4 separate regions of the Homo sapiens genome follow, and all the other regions are linked to region 3. Evidence: promoter capture Hi-C in human tissues and cell types (Jung and others, 2019). All regions are on one chromosome and are shown on one strand. The core of a region is centred on a gene start or on the middle of the fragment in contact, and the rest is flanking DNA. Distances in the headings are between cores, read along the strand shown.

Region 1 (4,786 bases), core at 1,105-3,604, 67 kb after region 3:
GGAAGTGAGCAATCTACACAGAGAAGACTTAACTCAGGAATGGAAACGATAACATCTACAGGAATGTGCATCTAAAGTGTGGCTTTCGTAATGAGACAGACATTTCATCCAGTTTTTGTACCTGGTCTGAGACTCTTCCTGTCTGCTGGAAATACATCCCCTCATTGCCCAGAGACAGAGAAACCCCAGTCTAAGTTCAACTCTCCTAAAACAATTTAAAAAAAAAAAAAGTGCAATAATTAGGTATTCTTTCCTAGATTAAGGCAGAGTTTTGAAAAGAGCGGTGAGAGAACAGTTTTTTAAAAAAGAAAACGTGAGCTGTGGATTTTATGATACTTTTAGTCTCAATCATGTCAATATGAAGAATTACCTTCCATGAGATAAAATGCTTATAACCATAGGGATAAGCAAGCCTCACTGTATAGATGTGCGGATATTTGTACACGTGTATCTGTGTACACAGCGTCAAGATAAAACCATTTTGAGATTTTACATGTGTACCCACGTATGTGTAGAGACTATGTTTTTAAAAATATTAGGATTGATTTTACCCAATTGACATAAACATTTGTGTGGGGTTTTCCTCTTTATTCAGCAATGATTGAGTTGGTTGGAGATGCTGAGACATTAAACACACACACACACACACGCACACGCACACACACGTATTAGTTAAATTTGCTACCCAAACTGATTCCTTTTGAGTTTAAATATTTTGTATTTCCAGCAGAGCCGCCACTTGTCAGAGCCCATCATGGGTATGGGGCCAGTTTGCTTTTTGGTCATTGGGTCTGAGTCACAGGGGAGGGAATGCATATGTTTCTGGTGCAGTAAGCCAGGGTGGTCTTTCCTGCTGACACTCTCCAGGTTTACAGAAAGGCATCACCTAAAGCACCTGAGGATGGCATGCAGGGCACTTTGAGAGCCAGGTGTCAGCATCTCTTCTCAACTCCAAGTTCAGTGACAAAAGCAAGCTGGTCCCTTTTGCTAAGACTGCTCAGATTCCTAGAATATAACCATTGATGCTATAACCCCTGACATGGCACCTGTACTTCAGGCATGACTGGCTGGTGCCCTGACTGGACAGTAGGTTGGCAGGCAGTGCCAGGATTCCTAACAGATATGCCCTCCTAGGTGAGGTCTGCCTCAGGGCAGACACAGTCTTAGCAGCAGCTACGTTAGCGTCCTGGCAGCTGGACACAGTGTGGAATCTCCATTTGCAGACCTTGTCTCTTCCTGGTCCTTTTAAGATGCTTTTAAGACCCAACATAAAAGCACACGGAGCAAACTGGAAACAGATGGAGAGTCCCCAGGGCCCTTTAAGCAGTCTATCTCTGTGGGACAGGCCTAGTCTCCTGAGTTGCAAAAACATCTCTAGGGCTACGAAAGGGCTGAAACCTGGGAGCCCTGCCTTCCAGCTCTCTGTTAGTATGGTTCAGTGTGATTACTCTTAATTAAAGAGGGTAAGTTGCCTTATTTTATCCACAGGCTTATGAGACAGAAAAATATTCTGGCCTTTGCATTCTTGAGGAAAACAGGAAGAGAGAAAAATCAACAGAGATCAAATTCCAATAGTCTTGAGGCATAAGAATTCAAAGGGAAAATAATCTTTTCAGTACTCTCTATGCATCTTAGATTTTAAAGAGACCTACATTTTATAACCAGGGTCTTGTTTTGCAGGAATCTACGGGACTCCCTTAAAACAGACTGGATATAGCTCCTTGTAATAGCTGGATCCATGTTTTAGTCAGCCATGACAATGAAACAAAAAAAAATAACGATAATGCGTAATTTAAAACAAATCAGCCAGAAAGCCACTTCTAACCACTGCCTTTCACTCTCCACCCCTGATCAAATTTCAATAAGAGCTTCAAATATGGAGAAACTCATGAGTATGATAATCATTTGAAATTAGACAAAAAAGCAAGAAACTGGCTAGTTTACCATCTGAAATTGCTCTGCACACATTATGCAGTGTACCTGGTTGTTCCTTAGCATCAAGTTCCACCTTTTTGCTATGGCTTAATTGTCTCTCAAGAGGCAGGACTCAGGGCATCACAACCTGAGAGAAAAATGTGAGAAGGCAGGAAAGATGGGGAGTAAAGCAGAGAAGCTTTCAAGCCAACTGTTTTGTTACCATTTCCAGAAAGACAGGACAGAAGACAATCTGATGGCATAGGCTTGCTCTATGAGCCAAAAGGTCAAGTTAAATATTTGGCCCAATGACTGTTTAGTGAGTTTGTGTTTTTTCCTCTGGGTGGGGGTCTTTGGAATGATGGTACAAATAGATCATGGTCCTAAAGGGGTCAAACTCAGGTTAGAAGGCCAAAGAGAGGGGAGTGCTCCTGTATAGCTTAACACTCCAGTGTCTCTGCAGAACTAGGGTGTGGGAACCATCACTCCAGGCCTGTGCTAGATGACAGTCAGTGCCACGCCATTCCTTGAACAGTTAAGACAGAGAGAGAGAATACCATCTACTGGAAATGGTCTCTAAATCACACAAGGAGAGCTGAAGGCCTTTAAGCAAAAATGACACTCTCATCTCTTAGTATTTAGAGGGGACATATTCTGAAAAACAAAAATCCATAAGCAAGGGCTGGCTGCCAGTTGGAGTAACAGGAACAGGTTTTGCTTTTGCTGTGGCTTAAAGTCCCCACAAAAGTACCTATTTTCCAGAAAGCCACTTGCCACCATCACCTCCACTTAATAAAACTCCCAGGAGCAGCTGATTTTTAGCTGACCTCAAAAGCCTGGATGTGTTTCTAAAACTCAGAGAGGACACCTGTGACATGTCATTTTTCCCATGTGGAGTCTACCTATTCACTGCCAGTGTTGAAATGGGCAAAACTCTTAAGCCAGCCATTGGCCTGAGTCCAGTGTGCTACCCAGTAAACCAGGGCAGATGTGTGGATTCTTTTTACTGATTGGGAGACTGCCTCAGGTTGAAGATTGCTGGCTCCTTTCTTTATTGGATAGGTATTTACTTTTTTTTTTAACCAGTTAATTATAACCTAAATTAAGGCAAGTTTTTTCAAAGAGCAAATTTGATAAATGCTACCAATATGTGTATTTCCACTACAGGAGACTCTTATTTCTGATTATACACAGAAGGGAAAAGGTTTTTTGGTGTTTTTTTTTTTTTGAAACCATTAAACTTGTTTATTTTGGAAAATGCAATATGCACAAGGTGTGTTAAGGAAGGAAAGATGTATTTCAGTACTCCTACTAATACAAAACATTCTGAGAGGGGCTCGGGCAACTTTAATGGAAGCAAAACTCAACAATGAAGAATACTATAGTACAAAATTATGGCCAAAAATACTGTATTTTTAACCAGCAAGATCATTGGGGCATTATTATACAACATTAGGTGTTTTTTGCAAAACTAGTTCCCATCCCCAAACAATAGACAGTACATGCATTTGAATGACATTTTAGGAACAGTAAATATTCTTTTAAATACTGCAAGTTAAAAATGTTTTCTGACAAAACTCCCTAAATACATAGGTCTAGTAAGGGTTTCCAACAGGATGATGGGTGAGGAATCCAGCAAGGAGTTGCATTTAGAGAGTTCTTTGAGGAAAAGAAATCCACCAAAAACGTGTTTCAGTCAAAGTAACCTGGACAAAGTTACGTAGTATTATTCCAGCTTTCTTTCCTGAACTTAAAAATGTTCTACCAACGAATACCTTTCTGTTTTTTCTGTCTACCAAAAGCTTATATAAAAGTCAGAATTTCTTTATCCAAGATCTGATTTTACCCAATAGATGTTTTCATAACATGTAAATGTCATTTGCTATATTGGGTTGGAATCATACGGGGAAATGGAGGACACAGGGTAGATAAGGAAGGCAAGGAGGAAATTAATATTTGAGCACCTACTATGTGCTAGGTGTGTATTCATACTTTGAACATATGATTCTAGAGGCAAGAGTGTTATTGAAAGGGCAGTGATCATTGGGAAGACAGCAGGAAATGGCTATTCTGTGAGAAAAACAAATGACAAGTTTAGGGTCTGTACTAAGTTATCTACTAAACAGCAGGTGTCTGGCTCCAAAAATCTCTAGCTAATCATATACAACTAAGCCATTTCTTTTCCTAATTTGATGGAACCAAAATGAAATCCCAAAGACACAGTTACCAGGACAGATCTATTAACGCTACATATGCTGGAAATATGTAGAGATAGATAAACATACAATATTACTAGTTTTATTTTTTTGTGTTTCTAACCAAAGATATATCTTTGGAAGAAAATATTAATGTATACCAAGCACACCTTATTTGTATCAATTGAGATGTTGATTACCAATTAAGTGGTTTTAAACCCTTATTTAATTTGAAGAAGAGCAGCAATATACATTACAATATTTGGGTACACTTTATTTTTATATGGGTTAACATTCTGCTATATTTCATTTCATTCGTTTTGAGAAACTGAAAACAAAGGGAAATCAAGGGTAATCGGTAGGTGATTTGAGGGAAATTTCCAACCAATATGTGAGTCTTGCAGTATTTCATTATACAGCCCTTTCTTCCCATTATTTATTTTTTTGCAAATAAGTCATTTTGACCCAAATCCAGCATAAATAGCTTTTCACCAATTCCTAACTTAAGACAACTAAAATTTACAATCATGTGGCAGTATAAATTTTAAAATTACAGTTCGTACACTTTGACAATCAAGATAGTCTGAAGTACAAAAAAGTAAATTGCCCTTTAGCTGAATTACCTTTTTAAAATAGGCCTGCTAGTTAATCTACCAAAAAAAAAAAAATACAAGTTT
Region 2 (4,685 bases), core at 1,630-4,129, 130 kb after region 3:
TAAGATTTTTATTTTTCAGATCATGAAAAATAAAACATTTTTCATTTTCTGAAAAAAATAAAACATTTTTCATTTTCTGAAAAATATTTTCAGATCATGAAAAATAAAACATTTCACCCAGTTCTTACATAGTTTTTAGTAAGTCGGTTTTTGGAGGTTAAGTGGGTCTATCCATTATCCCAGTTCAATGGGCAACCCTAAGATGAGAAGAGGAGGAATCACTGGTATCACTAACACCTACTTTAGAAACTCAGTTTAATGAACACATAACCTGAATGCAAGCTCTTTTAAATTCTATGCTATCTCTTTCCTTTTAGTAAGTTGACAGTCTATTTAAGGGATGTGGGGGCCATAAGGGGATGGGAGAAGTGGGGCATATATTAAACTATAAGTTTGGGCTGCCATGGATTCAATGATTAGTTCTGAATGCCCTCATTGGGCACATCAGCCTGGTACCACTGGGGAAGTGAGGCAGGAAATCAGCTGCTAATTAGAGTATATATTAACATGCTGCAAATTAATCAGGAAGAGCACGTTTAGTGTCATTTTCTAAAAGAGAATTAAAATTAAGAGGCATCAGGTGAAACTAAATTTAACAGAAAATGAGAGATATATTCCTCCTGTTAAGTATCACGTGCTCTGTGAGCACAGGCGAAGACAAGGATGTCTGCAGCTCTCTGGGTATGGGAAAAAAATGATTCTGGACTACCAATCTCTCATTTTAGTGTTTAGTGGACAGGACTGGCTACAGAATCTGCAGGTCCCAGTGCAAAATAAAAATGTGGGGTCCTTGTTTAAGATGGCCACAGACAGAAGAGTATTAAACCAAGTGCAGGGCCCTGTGGAACTGCATGAGGTTGCATGTCTGTGAAGCTGGCCCTGTTAGTGGAAGAAATGTTGCATACTGAAACATACAAATTGAGCTGAATTTATGGCTATGGTTGTTTCTGAAAATTACTTTACCTTAAATTGTGTCACAGAAAGGGGGAAAAACAGCAACCACCCACCTGGACTCTCCAATCAAAAACAACAAAAAAAAACCCACCCTGGAAGGCTGAGGAGCCAGCTAATTCCCATCTGCTGCTGTGTGCCACTCTGCATTCACCCTTCCGCCCAATGCCTGGACTGGAGTGAAGAATAAGATCCTAGTAGCAAGCAGATTACCTTCCCATTGACAACAGTAGTTTACAATTGAAGAGCACTGTACGGTGTAGACCTGTAAACTTTAAAAATTATGACCCATATTAACAACTATGTTTTATATTGTACCTAGTCCCCCAACCCACACACATGTAAATATAATGGAAACGAAAGTTTCATGAAACAATAATTCACCTGACTGTGATATCCTTTAACATTTTCTATTCAATTTCATTTAAATGTATTTATTTCACTTTTTTAAAGATGCTGCTCATGACCCCATCATATGGAATTCACTGCCCAATAATGGTCCCAATTCACTGCTGTGCGGAAACTCCCAGGTTGGAAAAGATTGGTACCTGGCCATTGTTTTTCTCCACCAAGTGTGCTCTGCTCCCTGCCCCCAATCTTCCTGGAATACATTCTGCCTCTGACCACTGGGGTCAATATTAATTTACACTGAGACAAACCTAGTACTACATCCCCTTTCGGTGGGATTTTCCATTTTGGAGTGGAATAGAAACTCCCTTTTCTCTTGGGTTGCAAGGCTGAGCAGGTACAATTCAGGACTGTTTGAGGAGAAACAAAACAAAAATCAGAAGAGAGAAAGAGATTCCCAACCAAACTCCTGGTTCAAGGTACTAATAAAGCATCTTCACCCTGGTTCTTCCTGGTTACGTCAGCTAGTCTGTGAGAATTTTTGTCTTTTTTCAACAACAAAGCCATGACTAATACAAACACTGTAATAGAACATGTAAACAGATAACAAATATATGTTATAGATCAAGGGTGTCCAATCTCTTGACTTCCCTGGGCCACAATGGAAGAGAAGGAACTGTCTTGGGCCACATGTAAAATACGCTAATGCTAAAGATAGCTGATGAGCTAAACAAAAACAAAAAAACCACAGAAACACGCCAAAAAAAATCTCATGTTTTAAGAAAGTTTACAAATTTGTGTTGGGCTGCATTCAAAGCCGTCCTGGGCCACGTGAGGCCCACAGGCTATGGGTTGGACAAGCTTGTTATAAATATTAGTAGCTGTATCTTAAAAATATTGTTTTCAGTCCCTTTTTTTGGGCATGTTAAACCTTTTCATTCTCTTATTGTAAAAGAAATTTTCTTAAACCAAAGCTTCTTTATTTTTCAGCACTTACACAAATAATACTTTTCCCCATATTTTAATCTTATTTAACAAATAATGATTAAGCTTATGACTCTGGCTGTGAGGCATAAATGTCAAATCAAAGAGTTCTCTTAAGACAGAATTAGCCATAGATGATAATGTTTCCAAATGAAAGTTATAACACTAACTTAGCACCAACAGTAATAACAGTACCTTAAAATTGATAGTATGAACTATAATTTACTGAACATCTGTGTGTTCCAGGAAGTTTGTATGTTATCTATTTTAATAATCCTCACAGCGCTTTAAGAGTAATGATATCCTCATTCTTCACATTATGAGGGAGGCACAGTGATATTAACTTGTGCAAGATTAACCAGCCTGAAATGAGTGAAGCTGTGATTTAATCCAAGATAGTCTGATTCTATTTCCCTGTTGTCTCTTCAGGGACTGCCTTGGATTTGTACCTCACAGTTGACTAATGTTCCACAAAAGACACTACACTTTTTTCTTGTTCCCATTTTAAAGTGACGATTCACATTATATTCATTGGCAATTCAAAAATATGCTGCTTTTCTTCATAGGTTCCCGTGTGAAAACATGTTAGAGATGTTACTGTAGGAGATTTAACTGAGGCAGAATAAGACCTGAAGAATGGCACATATATTATACTGCCCCTGGATCTTAATCTAGGCTCTCTGAAGAACATTTCACGAAATCCAGACCCTTTATTAATTATTGAGCTTGGTGTCCCAACCAAAGTGATATTATAGAATAACAAAGCCACAGCAAATGATTTAAAGTTTTATAAAATGTAGGTTCCCTGCTAAAAGACAAATTCTTCTTCTTCTTTTTTTTTTTTAAAAAGGAAGACTCAGATGGTACTCAAGAAAGACCTCAGCTGGTTAAATTTGGCCACCAAAGTGGTCCACATTCCTCTGGCTTTGAGACCACAGCATTTTCATTTGATTATCTACATTGTAGAGCATATAGTTATTTTAAGCTTTACACTCTCTGCATTTGTTCCATCTAAGATGAAGGAACAAGTGTGGAGATAAATCTTGGTGTCATAAAACTATCTCCTTTATTTCAATGAACTCTTTAATTTGTATTACTTCTAAAAGATGTATCAGTTTTGAAGATATTTTCAATAAATTGACAGAAAATGGATGTTAGAACTAATACTGCTACGTTTGCTAAGCTTCTCGGACCAGACATTTGTACTTAATTTCTCCATTTGCTTGTAACTGCATCTTATCTTTCTGAAACCAATCAGAAAAAGAGAAAGCTGCCTAAAATGCCTTTTAAAAAAATAAAAGAAAAGAAAAAATAGAGAGACAGGTTCTTGCTCTGTCACCCAGGCTGGAGTGTAGTGGCACAATCATAGCTCACTGCAGCCTCAAACTCCTGGGCTCAAGTGACCCTCTGGCTTTGGCCTCCCTAGTAGCTAAGACTACAGGTGTGTACCACATGCCCAGCAAATTTCTTTATATTTTTTGTAGAGACAGGGTCTCACTCTGTTGTCCAGGTTGGACTCCAACTCCTAGCCTGAAGTCATCTTTCTGCCTTGGCCTCCAAAAGTGCTGGCATTACAGGTTTGAGCCACCATGCCCAGCTCAGCTTACTTTTATTTTATTAGATTTTAATCTTTAAGATTTCTTATCTTTTAAGATAATCATTATTTCTTTAATCCATGTAAAATGGATTGTTCATGTAAAAATTTAAAAATGCAGGTAAGTAAAATAAATAAAACATAAAAACAAAATGACCTTTACCCCAACTATTCAGAAATAATCCCTGCTAACAGTCTGAATTAATCTTCCAGGCATATATGTATGCACCTATAATAAATATCTGTATTATATGTCTTTAAAAATCAGATGCATGCTGTACGTGCTGTTTTGAAATTATTTACATCAATATATCATGAGCGACTTTCTGTCCAATATTAATTATACATCTATATTACCATTTTTAGCATCTGCATAGTATTTTATTTTTTAGGTGTACTCTGAATTTGTTAATCGATTTCCTACAATTGGATAATTTAATTATTTTCATTGTTAACAACTTTGAGCAATGTTGTCTTTGGGACATGTAACCTACTAACTACAATTAGCAATAACATTTCTACCAGTGGCATTACTGGATCAAAGGGTATAAACACCTCAAAAGATTTTATATATTGTCATACTACTGGCAGATTGTACCAATTTATCCTCCTATTAACAGTATCTAAGAATGTTCACTTCTCCTCATCTCTCTTTTTTTTTTTTTTTTTTGAGACAGAGTCTCGCTCTATCACCCAGGCTGGAGTACAGTGGCGTGATATCAGCTCACTGCAAGCTCTGCCTCCCGGGTTCACGCCATTCTCCTGCCTCAGCCTCCCGAGTAGCTGGGACTATAGGCGCCCGCCACCA
Region 3 (4,727 bases), core at 21-2,520:
CACGGTCAGAGGAGCAGCAACGGCATGGGCTTCACCCCCACAGCTGACCTAGCATCGGCTTTGCCTTTTCTCAATCAGGGCAAGTTGGTCAGTTCTCCAGGCCTCCATGTTTTAATTCTCTAGAATAGCGATATCACCTGCCCGCATCACCAGGTGGTGATGCCCTTAAGAACTTAGCACGATCTGGCACATGGTAAATTCTCAAGATGCTTCATCTAGAACTGAAAGCGTACGGGTCAGAGCTAGCGCTGAACCCAAGATGTGGGTCACCACAGACCCCAAGCTGGGTGTGCTGCGGGCGGAGGAGTGGACGGGGTTTTGAGGAGAGGGGCACACCGGAACACATAAGGTACAGCGGTCAAGAGGTTAAGTGTTACAGGTCCCTATCCTGTTTTGGGGCAGGGGAAGGTGTTGCTTTTGCAAGTCGCCCAGCCAGAGATGGAAAGAACAGGCACCTAAGGCCCCAAGTTGCTGGCATCCGTGAGCTCCGAGGGGGAGAAGGACGAAGCCGCCCTGCACCCCGCTGGGCTCCAGGGCCGCGCGGGTGCCAGTGGAGAGGCCGGGAGGGCTCGGAAGAAAAACGCCCGGCTCACTGGAGTCGGAGACGCAGCCACTCACCCAGCAGCAGCAGCTTAAGCTCACGGCGCGCGTCCTTCTTGTCCCGACGAAGCTGTCGCTCGATCTCCGCGCTGATGCGCTGCGACTCCTTCTCCTCCGCGGACAGGCAGCAGCAGCCGGCCATGGTGCGCTCAGCTCAGTACCCGACGGGGCGACGCGGCCCCGGGCACCCGAATCCTCGGCCCGGCCGCTCACCCGGCCAGCATGCGACGGGCACAGGGGTGTGGAAAGAAAAGACGGGGGCCGACTTGAGCTTTGGAGTAAGACGCCTGGACCTCCGAGGCTCAATCCCCCTTCGAAAGTCGGCTCTGAGGCGGGGTGAATGCCGAGCGCTGGGAACGCTCGAGTGCACCCCGGATCCGGGCTCAGCCCGCCCCACTCTCGCTCTGGGGAGGAGGAGGGCGAGTCGAGAAGTTGGGAGCGTTGCTGGCCCCGGGAAGATGCGCGCGCCCCTTGGCACAGGAGCCGGACAGCAGTCGGGGGCGCAGACGAGTTGGAACGTCGGTGCTCGGGGGAGAGTAGGATCTCCTGGGCCTAGGGGTGTCCCCAGGCGGGAGGTAGGCGCGGAGTGGGTTGGAGGCAAAGGACCTGGCTGGCCTTTGCCTGGAAAGTTCTGAAAACCTCAGCAGTGACCGCAGACTAAGACTGAGTGGAAAGGTTCCCGCTAGCGTTTGTGGCTCTAAGTGGCAGGAGGAGGCGGAGCATCTTGAACCTGCAGCCCTGGCGTCTGCTGGACTTGCCCTTCTGGGCACCCCAAGCCGAAGGCGCCTGGAAGTGAAAGGGGACGAGCAGGGGGCGCGGAGCTGGGGGTGGGAGCTGGCACCTCTAGGAGCAGCTCCCACACTTGCCTCCCTGGCTGGGGCGTCCCGGCCAAGGTTTGCTGTAATCTGCGCGTCTGGCCGCCAGGCACCGGGTTCCGACAGGTGAGTGAGTTTCGCCAACTCACTCGCTCGGAGAAGGCGGCAGCAGGCTGGAAGAGGAGCGGCGCCAAGCGTCTGTTGCGGGACACAAAGCCCCGGACCTGAAGTGGAAGCTTGCCCACCAGCTTCACCACCACGCACACCCGGATTTCCTAGACTGGCTCCTTCCGCTTCCCGGACGCCCCGGCCCAGCTCGGGCTTGGCCAAAGCCCTTGGTCAGCTCGGCAATTTGCCTGTAAAGTGTGGCTGGGCCTGAGCCTGCTGGCTCTGAGCTCGGAGAAGGAGCCGCCGCTGGGTTCAGTTATAAGAGAACTGCAAGAGCCCAGGGTAAATATCCTCTCGGTCTCCGGACGAGGGGGCTGGGGAGAAAGGGAACGGCTGATTGCTTTGCATTTTATGATGGGAAAGACACCTGCTTTGTAGAAAGGGCTGATACGTTCCTAGTAGCACCTGGCAAGTTTCCTGCCCAGCCCTGAAGCCTAACAGCCGCCTTGCGATTGTGTCCGCACTGACACCTTGGCCTGTATCCTGGACCGTCGGGGTCAAGTTTGAGCAGCATTAATAAAAACTTTAAAAGCACCTCTTAGTACTTAAGTGACACGATAAAATGCATATTACAACATCTGACTTTTGTCTGTGTAGATTTTGATGCAGAAAAGGGAAGGTGGGGAGAGGGGATCCTATTGGCCACAGCAATGAACGTTCTTTCCTTCTCAAGTCAGTATAGGCCATATGCTAATGGGGCGTTAGGCAATTAGCTAGCGCTTCCTCTACTAAGAGCAGGCATAAGTGCCTTTCATTTGAGTAGCATATATTTTATAAATTCAAACTGAGGAGCACATTGAGTGGAATGGTACGTGTCATTATATAAAGAAGTTGGTATCGCGATGCTATCTGGCTGCATGTTCTTATTATTTTACAGTTTAAGAAATGTAGAGGAATCAGACATTAAAAATGTGCATACATGCTTTAATGTGTGACTATTTTAGTTTTCTTGCAGGCATAAATTGACAGTAACAGTGACCCCTACAGGAAAACTCCTGGACATTTCAGATTTGATCTTTGGCCATTTAATAGCCTGTTTCTTCTCTCTTAGCTCTTACGGATTCATTTACAATTTGAGAATAAGATCTCTTGGCTTCTCAAAGTCATGGTTGCATCATAATTGTTATCATTTAAAAATTATAAAAAATTTTTAAATGATTAAAACTAGGGCAAATTTGAACTCTTACGTTAACGGGAATTACTGATACTGACCTATTAGGTTTAAAGTTGGCAAGATTTCAAAAACAGTTATGAAACATATTGATTAGGGCAAATCTGTACAACTTTCCTGGGCTAGTCAGCTTGGCAGTATATATCTGAAGCCTTAAACATGTCCGTCCCCTTCGGCCAAACCAGTAATTTCTCCCTTAAGAAATAACTAGAAAGAAGCCTCATGACTGATGCAAAGGTTTTATTGCCAATACAACAACAAAAACTCACAACCTAAATACCTAACAACAGGGAAGAGATCACTTAAATCATGGTTTATCCATACAATGAGATGTTTTGGAGCCATTAAATATGTGGATATGCGAGTAGTAAACATGTGAATAAATTTGGAGAAAATCCTCAAAATATATTGAATGAAAAAGGCAAGATCCAAAAATATAAAGAGTATGATAAGATTTTAGTATAAGAATACGCATACACATTTTTAAGAGACTGAAGGGACACACATCAAAAAGGTAGCTTGCTGTGAGTCATGGCTGTTTGGTTGATTTTCATTGTTCATTAGAAAATTTGGGCTGGGTGCAGTGGCTCACGTCTGTAATCCCAGCACTTTGGGAGGCCGAGGCGGGCAGATCACCTGAGGTTGGGAGTTCGAGACCAGCCAGCCTGACCAACATGGAGAAACCCCATCTCTACTAAAAATACAAAATTAGTTGGGTGTGGTGGCACATGCCTGTAATCCCAGCTACTCGGGAGGCTGAGGCAGGAGAATTGCTTGAATCCGGAAGGCAGAGGTTGTGGTGAGCCAAGATCACACCATTGCACTCCAGCCTGGGCAACAAGAGCCAAACTCCGTCTCAAAAAAAAAAAAAAAGAAAGAAAAAATTTGGGGCAGCTTGCATAAAATTATTTAGGCTCCACTTTCCTTAACTATAAGATGAGAGGGATAAGCCAGAATAAGCTCAAAAGGATCACCCAACTCTAACATGCATTATTTCTTTGATGACATTCACACTTATCCAAAATAAATTTATTTAAAAATAATCAAAAACCTAAAGTTGTTATTGAGCATCAGCCACTGGTAAGAAACAGAAAACTGGGATATCACAAGTCAATCATTTTTATACTTCTATGTTTTATTCATCTCTGTTTTCCTTATCTGTAGAATCTGGAAGGTAAAATGATAATAATTTTAAGATATTAATTCATTGGAAACATCTTTCCAGGAAGGGGTAGTTTTGAGAAGAGTTCTCAATAAAAGAGAATATTTATTTTCCTAAGTTATTTCAAAAAAGCTGCAATTTTATTTTATTCATCTTGAAGACGAGAGCGCAGACTGGACCTGAGTTTCAGATATCCACCAAGTGTGGGGCTACAGGGGTGAGCTAATTGTCTGATATCCCTCTGAATGTCCACTAGGTCCATACCAGCCCCTGTACCAGGCAGTGAGGATTCAGGTAATAAGACAATTCCAGACTTTCGGTAGAGCTATAGTCTAGTAGAAAGAAGTAAAACTGAGACCCTGAAATCTGAACCTACCCCTTCCTGCTTCCTTCCAGAGAACAGTGAGAGCACAGAGTCACCTGAGGGCGCTCCCCAGGCCTACAGATATGCACAGCAGCCTCATCTTCCATCACTCTCCTGGAACTCTAGACAAATGGAATTTTCTGTTCTCCCTACCTCCTGCCTCCATGCCTCGGTGCATGCTGTTCCATCTTCCAGGAATACCATCTCTTACCCTAGGCAAAATTAGGTAATTTCTTTTTCAATTACATCTCTTCTGAGGAAGCAACTCCAGCCCTTGTCAGTTACATCCATCTTTCCCTACTGCTGGAACACTGTCAACATCTCACTCTATTACACCCGTCTGTTTCTTCTAATCTATGAGTTACTCACAGGTAAAGAGTTTTTCTTACTTATCCTGGTATTCCTAAATTAGCAAGTTTCAGTTGACTAACCTTAAATACTGAAACC
Region 4 (5,202 bases), core at 1,318-3,817, 96 kb before region 3:
TGGCGCCACCCTAAGAGTTGGGGAAAAGAGCCCCAACTTTGGAGGACCTCATTTCGGCCCTCTTTCATCTTCTCCCCACCCAAGGGAGCAATGAGGACACAGGCCCAAGGGACCGTGCCTATTTGTAGCCCATGTCCTCTCCCCAGCTTCACATCCTCGTTGCAAGCGCTTGGGACTCTATAATTTTCTCCACCCAAATGATCCCAAACCCACTTCTAGGGCTTGCATGGGCCCTCCCCAGTCCATCGTCTTGGGGGTGAACATGTCACTGGTGTACATGTCACTAAATCTGAAGGTAGCCAGGGGACAGATGTTTGCAAGGGGGTGTTGACAAAGCCTGGATGTTCTAGCCAGGGTGCACATAAAGTCTTTTGCACTGTGGGTGGGAGGGGGTAGAGAGAAGGGAACACCAGCCAGGGGTTTCCATTGGTAACCCTGTCTGTGCCCTGCAAATGTACGGTGCCTCCCTGGCTCAACATGCACTCAGGGGTTGAAGCAGTAACTATCAATGGCAATATTTTCTCATTTCCAACTTTTATCCAGGATATGCTCTTTCAGCCTCGGTATATTTTGGTATAGATCTACTCAGTAAAGAAAGATCTCACTTCGATTTGTTTGCTAAAAGAATGGTAGACTAAATACAGAGAAAGCCTTCACCTTCACCCAGAGTTTTTAAGAAGTGAAAGAAACTTTGCAAGCATGTACAATTGGTACATATTATTAGCTAAAGGTGCTAAGATTCCTCTGAGTTAGCCAGTTTCTGGAGCAGATATAATACCCAGGACAATTGGGAGTAATGTCATGTGGTCACATACATATCAATATCCACCCTGAAATACCATCGCAGTGCACATCTAGGTTCAAAACACACTCATTATCATAAAATACAGTCAAGTTAGGAGCTACAGCATGAAATCAATTCAACAATACTAATTAAAAGTACATTTAAACTATCTTCAAAGCAGCTGTTAAATCTCACTTTATCTATTCTATAATCCAACCATTGTTTACACATGGAAGTTCAAAGAGAATCAAATGGGAGGTGGAAATGAGATGGGCTTGACAAGGCTTTGTTAAGGTCAGGTTGTCCACAGGGGCAACAAAATTATTCACAGGGTAAAGTGTGCAAATTAAGATGGTCACCTTCGTATTCACTCTCACACACTGGAAATTTAGCTACGCTAGGTCTCAAAATCAGACATCAGATTTTTCCTTACTGTTATGCTATTGTGGGCCCAGTTCCTGTTTTAAATTCAGTATGGAATTGAAAATACAACTCTGATTTTCCTGATGAGGAATATCTTCAGGCAGTCTGCTTGGTCTTCCCCTACCCCTGCCCTCAAAACATACATTGCTGAATTGTTTTCCATCATAGGTTGAAAGGGAAAATTTTCAACCTTTTTGGCAGATTAGCTGAAAATTTTCATTATACTTTATACAGAATGTATGTGCCTGCAAATCAACAAGCAATGCAAATCAAGCATCTTTGGCTAGCATGCTTTGACACAGTTTGATATATTATACATTCTTTAGCTGTTCTTTTCCTCCTCTCCCTCCTCATCCTTTTTCAAATTTTGAATCTTCAATTTCTACTCATCTACTAATGCTGACAACTCAAACTCTGTCCTGCAGATAAGCAGGGTCTTTAGACTTCCTTTATGTGGTCAACCACTGGCATAAACTCATCCCCATCCACGCCAGCCTGCCCCTTGGCCACCATGAAGTACATCTTGCAGCAGGCACAAAACTAGTCAAGGGACTAGAAAAAGCAGGACCTCATCATATACATGCGCAGACACTCACCCACCCCCCCTTCAAGTGACCCCAAATCACTAGGTCATCAAGTTCTGAAGCTGCCTCCAGACTGAAGCTGAAGCCCTCTTTCATGGGACCCTTCCCTGCTCCTAAAGTCTGGTCAATTCCAGCCCCTAGGAAGAAATATAGTGAAAAATAGGAAGGATTATTCTCCTACTAGATCTGAGCAGCATCTTTGGGCAACAAGAAACAATAAGAAAAAGAGTTAGGGCCATGTTCTTTGCTTTTTTTAAAAAAAAATCCTTTTCATTCTTCATGGCTCATTTGGTAGAAATCATCTTCAGTGATTTTAGAAGGCCAGTATTTGCAAATACAGCCTTAATATAAAGAAATTTGGCCAGGCGCGGTAGCTCATGCCTGTAATCCCAGTACTTTGGGAGGCCGAGTCAGGCGGATCACCTGAGGTCAGGAGTTCGAGACCAGCCTGGCCAACGTGGTGAAATCCTGTCTCTATTAAAAATACCAAAATTAGCCAGGTGTGGTGGTGGGCACTGGTAATCCCAGCTATTTGGGAGGCTGAGGCAGGAGAATCACTTGAACCCGGGAGGCAGAGGTTGCAGTGAGCCAAGATCAAGCCTTTGCAGCAGGAGAGAAACTCCATCTCAAAAAAAAAAAAAAAAAAAAGAAAAAGAAAGAAAGAAATTCAACACAAACAATCAATTATTCCCAAAAGTTCTAAAATAAAATTGAATCTATAATATCCAGATTCTGGGGGATTATTTGTTTGGTTTTTCTTTTGGTGGGGAGTTGGTGGTGAAAAGTGAAGGACAGTGGAGGCTTTGAGAGGCTGAGAGATGAACAAATCTGAGAAAATAATCTGGAAATGAAAATAATGAGAGATAACATGCTCCGAGCATTTCTTGGGTTTTTATAGCTTTGGTTTCTGGAAAGAATGGATTTGCTGATGAGCTTTCCTAACAGAATTGAAAACTGAAACTTTTCTTGGTCCTACATTCTGTGATATGTCCCAAGTTACACCAACTGGTGAATTTGATTCTCATTTTTGTTATGATATATTATTTATAACAATTGCATTCTGCTCTTTTAAGAATTTCAAGATCACCTCACCAAGAATGATTACTCTGACATAATAAAGGAAACAAATGTTACCAAAGACCCAATTCACTCAGCAAGGGAGCAAGGGCAACCTCTTCCAGAAGGACCTACCGTTGTAGCCTTCACAACATCAGAGAAACAAGGATAAATTTTAATATCATTATTATTTCACCTTAGTTTCTTTTTAATGCCCAAGCATTTTTGGGTTCTTATAGCCAAATACAATTAGTGCTATTAAGCATCTTAATTGAAATGCCCATAACTATCAGATTCTAACTTATTTTCCATCCAGCGTTAAGCAGCAGAAACTGTGCCAACCAACAGAACACTGTACTGCAGGCTGCCAGGAGAAAAGTGAACATAACTCAATGAGGGTTTTCTGAAAACTGCATCTACTGCATCATCATGACAATATGAATGAGGATCACTCCATTTACCTAATGGTGACATGACCTGCTGGAAAAACACATCCCAGGAAAAAAGGCACATCAAAGTCCCAAACTAGCCTTATGGAAGCTAATTATTCTCATATGTCTCTCAGAGGAGCTTCATAAATATTGATCATTCATGGAAGGGTGAAATCTCAATAATTAGCCTTGTTCTTTTCTACTCCCCCAGCCCAGTTCTTGGATATACCCGGGCTCCTTCCTTAGTACCTCTCCCTAAGACTATGCAAGAGACAGGGAGAGAGTAAGGGAAGGAATGTTTATGGAGAAACCATGTGTGGCAGGCACTACACTACACCTACCATCTTCATAAATGGCATCTCAGAGTAGTGCTGGGACTAGATCTTAACCACATGGAAACAAGATCAGACCTATATGGCACATCAAAATCAATCCCAGGTGAGTCAATGATTTATATGCAAAAAACTTCAATGATCAGTTTTTTTTAAAACAGCACCAATAGAAAAAAAAAGCAGGGAAAGTACATAAAGGCAATTCACAAGAAGAGAATACAAGTAGGCATATGAAAACTATTTGGCCTCATTATCATGGAGTGCAAATGAAAATCATGCCATACCATATTTTGTTTGCAAGAGGGGCAAATTGACAAAAAAAATCCAGTGTTAATGGGCATATGAGAAAACAGACACCCATTCCCACTTATTTGTGTGCACAGCAAGATGAAGAATTATATGACAGCTTGCATCACCATCATTCAAAGTGGGATGTTATGTCACCCAAAAATTCCAATTCTAGGATATATAATCTAAAGAAATCATTGGACAAGTGGCCAAATACCTATGTAATGGGAAAGTAATCACAGTGTGATCCACAATAACAAAAATGAGAAAAAAAATAAATGCGTAGTGATAGGAGACCAATTAGTTATGTTGACTCTCCACAATGGAAATATATGGCTGAGAAAATCAATGCAGATGAATATTTACTGACATGAAATGCCGTCTACAGTACAGTAAATGAGAAAGTAATGAATAAAACCTACTAGGCCAGGAGGGAGTACAGTAAAGGTTAAGAGGGGTACCTGTGCTCAAATTCCAAGTCTGCCACTTACCTGCTGCCTCACCATGAACAGGCTCTCAATTGGCCTCATCTGGGAAACGGGAATGGTAACACTGCAAGCACTCAGCCAGTGCTCAGCCCACAGCAAGCCTTTAAAAGTGTCTCTGTTACTTTCAGGTGAAGATGATTTGGATTATTTTTAAGCTTGCACACACATATACACACATCTGTAAGTTGGAATTATAGTCACCAAAACTTAATGGTGGTAATCACTGGGTGGTAGGCGAACAGTGTTTCATTATTTATGCACAAGAAAGTAAACACAATTCTATCCCCTCTTGGTTATGAGCATGTCATGCCTATTAGTTGTCAAAGTTCAAACCTAAGAATTTTTGTTAAAAGTTTTTTTAAAGTTTTAGTATCAGTTTGACTGTTAGCAAGAACAGGGATGCTGTCTGTTCTGTTTCCTCTCATTTTCAATGCGAGGGATTCATATTCTGTTGGCTATTTTGATACTAAAGTCATCCACTTTATATAAATTTAAAAATACTATTAATACTTCATCCAAACAATTTTGGATCCCCAAGATAACTGTGTCAAAACATTCTCTGACAAAGGTCTATGTTTATAAAAATGAAGAACTGAGCTGCACTGTAATTCCTTTCTAAATCTTCAGAAAAACATCTCCTGTCTGCTCCAAATTGCTCACAGACATGGAGTTTATTACCCTGTGCTGGAAGCCAAATGGGGATCTCATTTCTACTGTGACAATTAAAGACAAAATCCTGTGCTAGAATTGCATGTTTTTGTGGCTGAGTTTTCTTTTTTTAAATGCAAATGTAAAAATGATACTTTTCCTCCATCT

What was found. The method cuts DNA at HindIII sites, captures the fragments that hold promoters and counts their contacts. A contact is called where the count stands out against the background at its distance.
Region 1: a contact is called between a fragment that was not itself captured here and the fragment with the promoter of GNA14 in region 3, in 4 of the 25 tissues and cell types used here (H1 embryonic stem cells, bladder, dorsolateral prefrontal cortex and 1 more).
Region 2: a contact is called between a fragment that was not itself captured here and the fragment with the promoter of GNA14 in region 3, in 3 of the 25 tissues and cell types used here (bladder, hippocampus and lymphoblastoid cells).
Region 4: a fragment that was not itself captured here is called in contact with the fragment with the promoter of GNA14 in region 3 in 2 of the 25 tissues and cell types used here (H1 embryonic stem cells and dorsolateral prefrontal cortex).

What each region holds. Positions count from the first base shown.
Region 1 is chr9:77,712,968-77,717,753 of GRCh38, forward strand. It overlaps GNAQ (G protein subunit alpha q), which reads right to left. Exons shown (of 7, transcript NM_002072.5): 7 at 3,130-4,786. Among named protein-coding and RNA genes, the nearest start is that of GNA14, 67 kb to the left of the region's middle. The HindIII fragment of the contact is 4,626 bases long and covers 42-4,667 here.
Region 2 is chr9:77,770,881-77,775,565 of GRCh38, forward strand. The region is part of intron 5 of GNAQ (G protein subunit alpha q); the gene reads right to left. Among named protein-coding and RNA genes, the nearest start is that of GNA14, 120 kb to the left of the region's middle. The HindIII fragment of the contact is 3,819 bases long and covers 971-4,685 here.
Region 3 is chr9:77,647,052-77,651,778 of GRCh38, forward strand. It overlaps GNA14 (G protein subunit alpha 14), which reads right to left and starts at 1,271. Exons shown (of 7, transcript NM_004297.4): 1 at 619-1,271. The coding sequence starts at 742. The HindIII fragment of the contact is 8,690 bases long and covers 1-4,727 here.
Region 4 is chr9:77,549,708-77,554,909 of GRCh38, forward strand. All of the region lies in intron 1 of GNA14 (G protein subunit alpha 14), which reads right to left. Among named protein-coding and RNA genes, the nearest start is that of GNA14, 96 kb to the right of the region's middle. The HindIII fragment of the contact is 6,386 bases long and covers 1-5,202 here.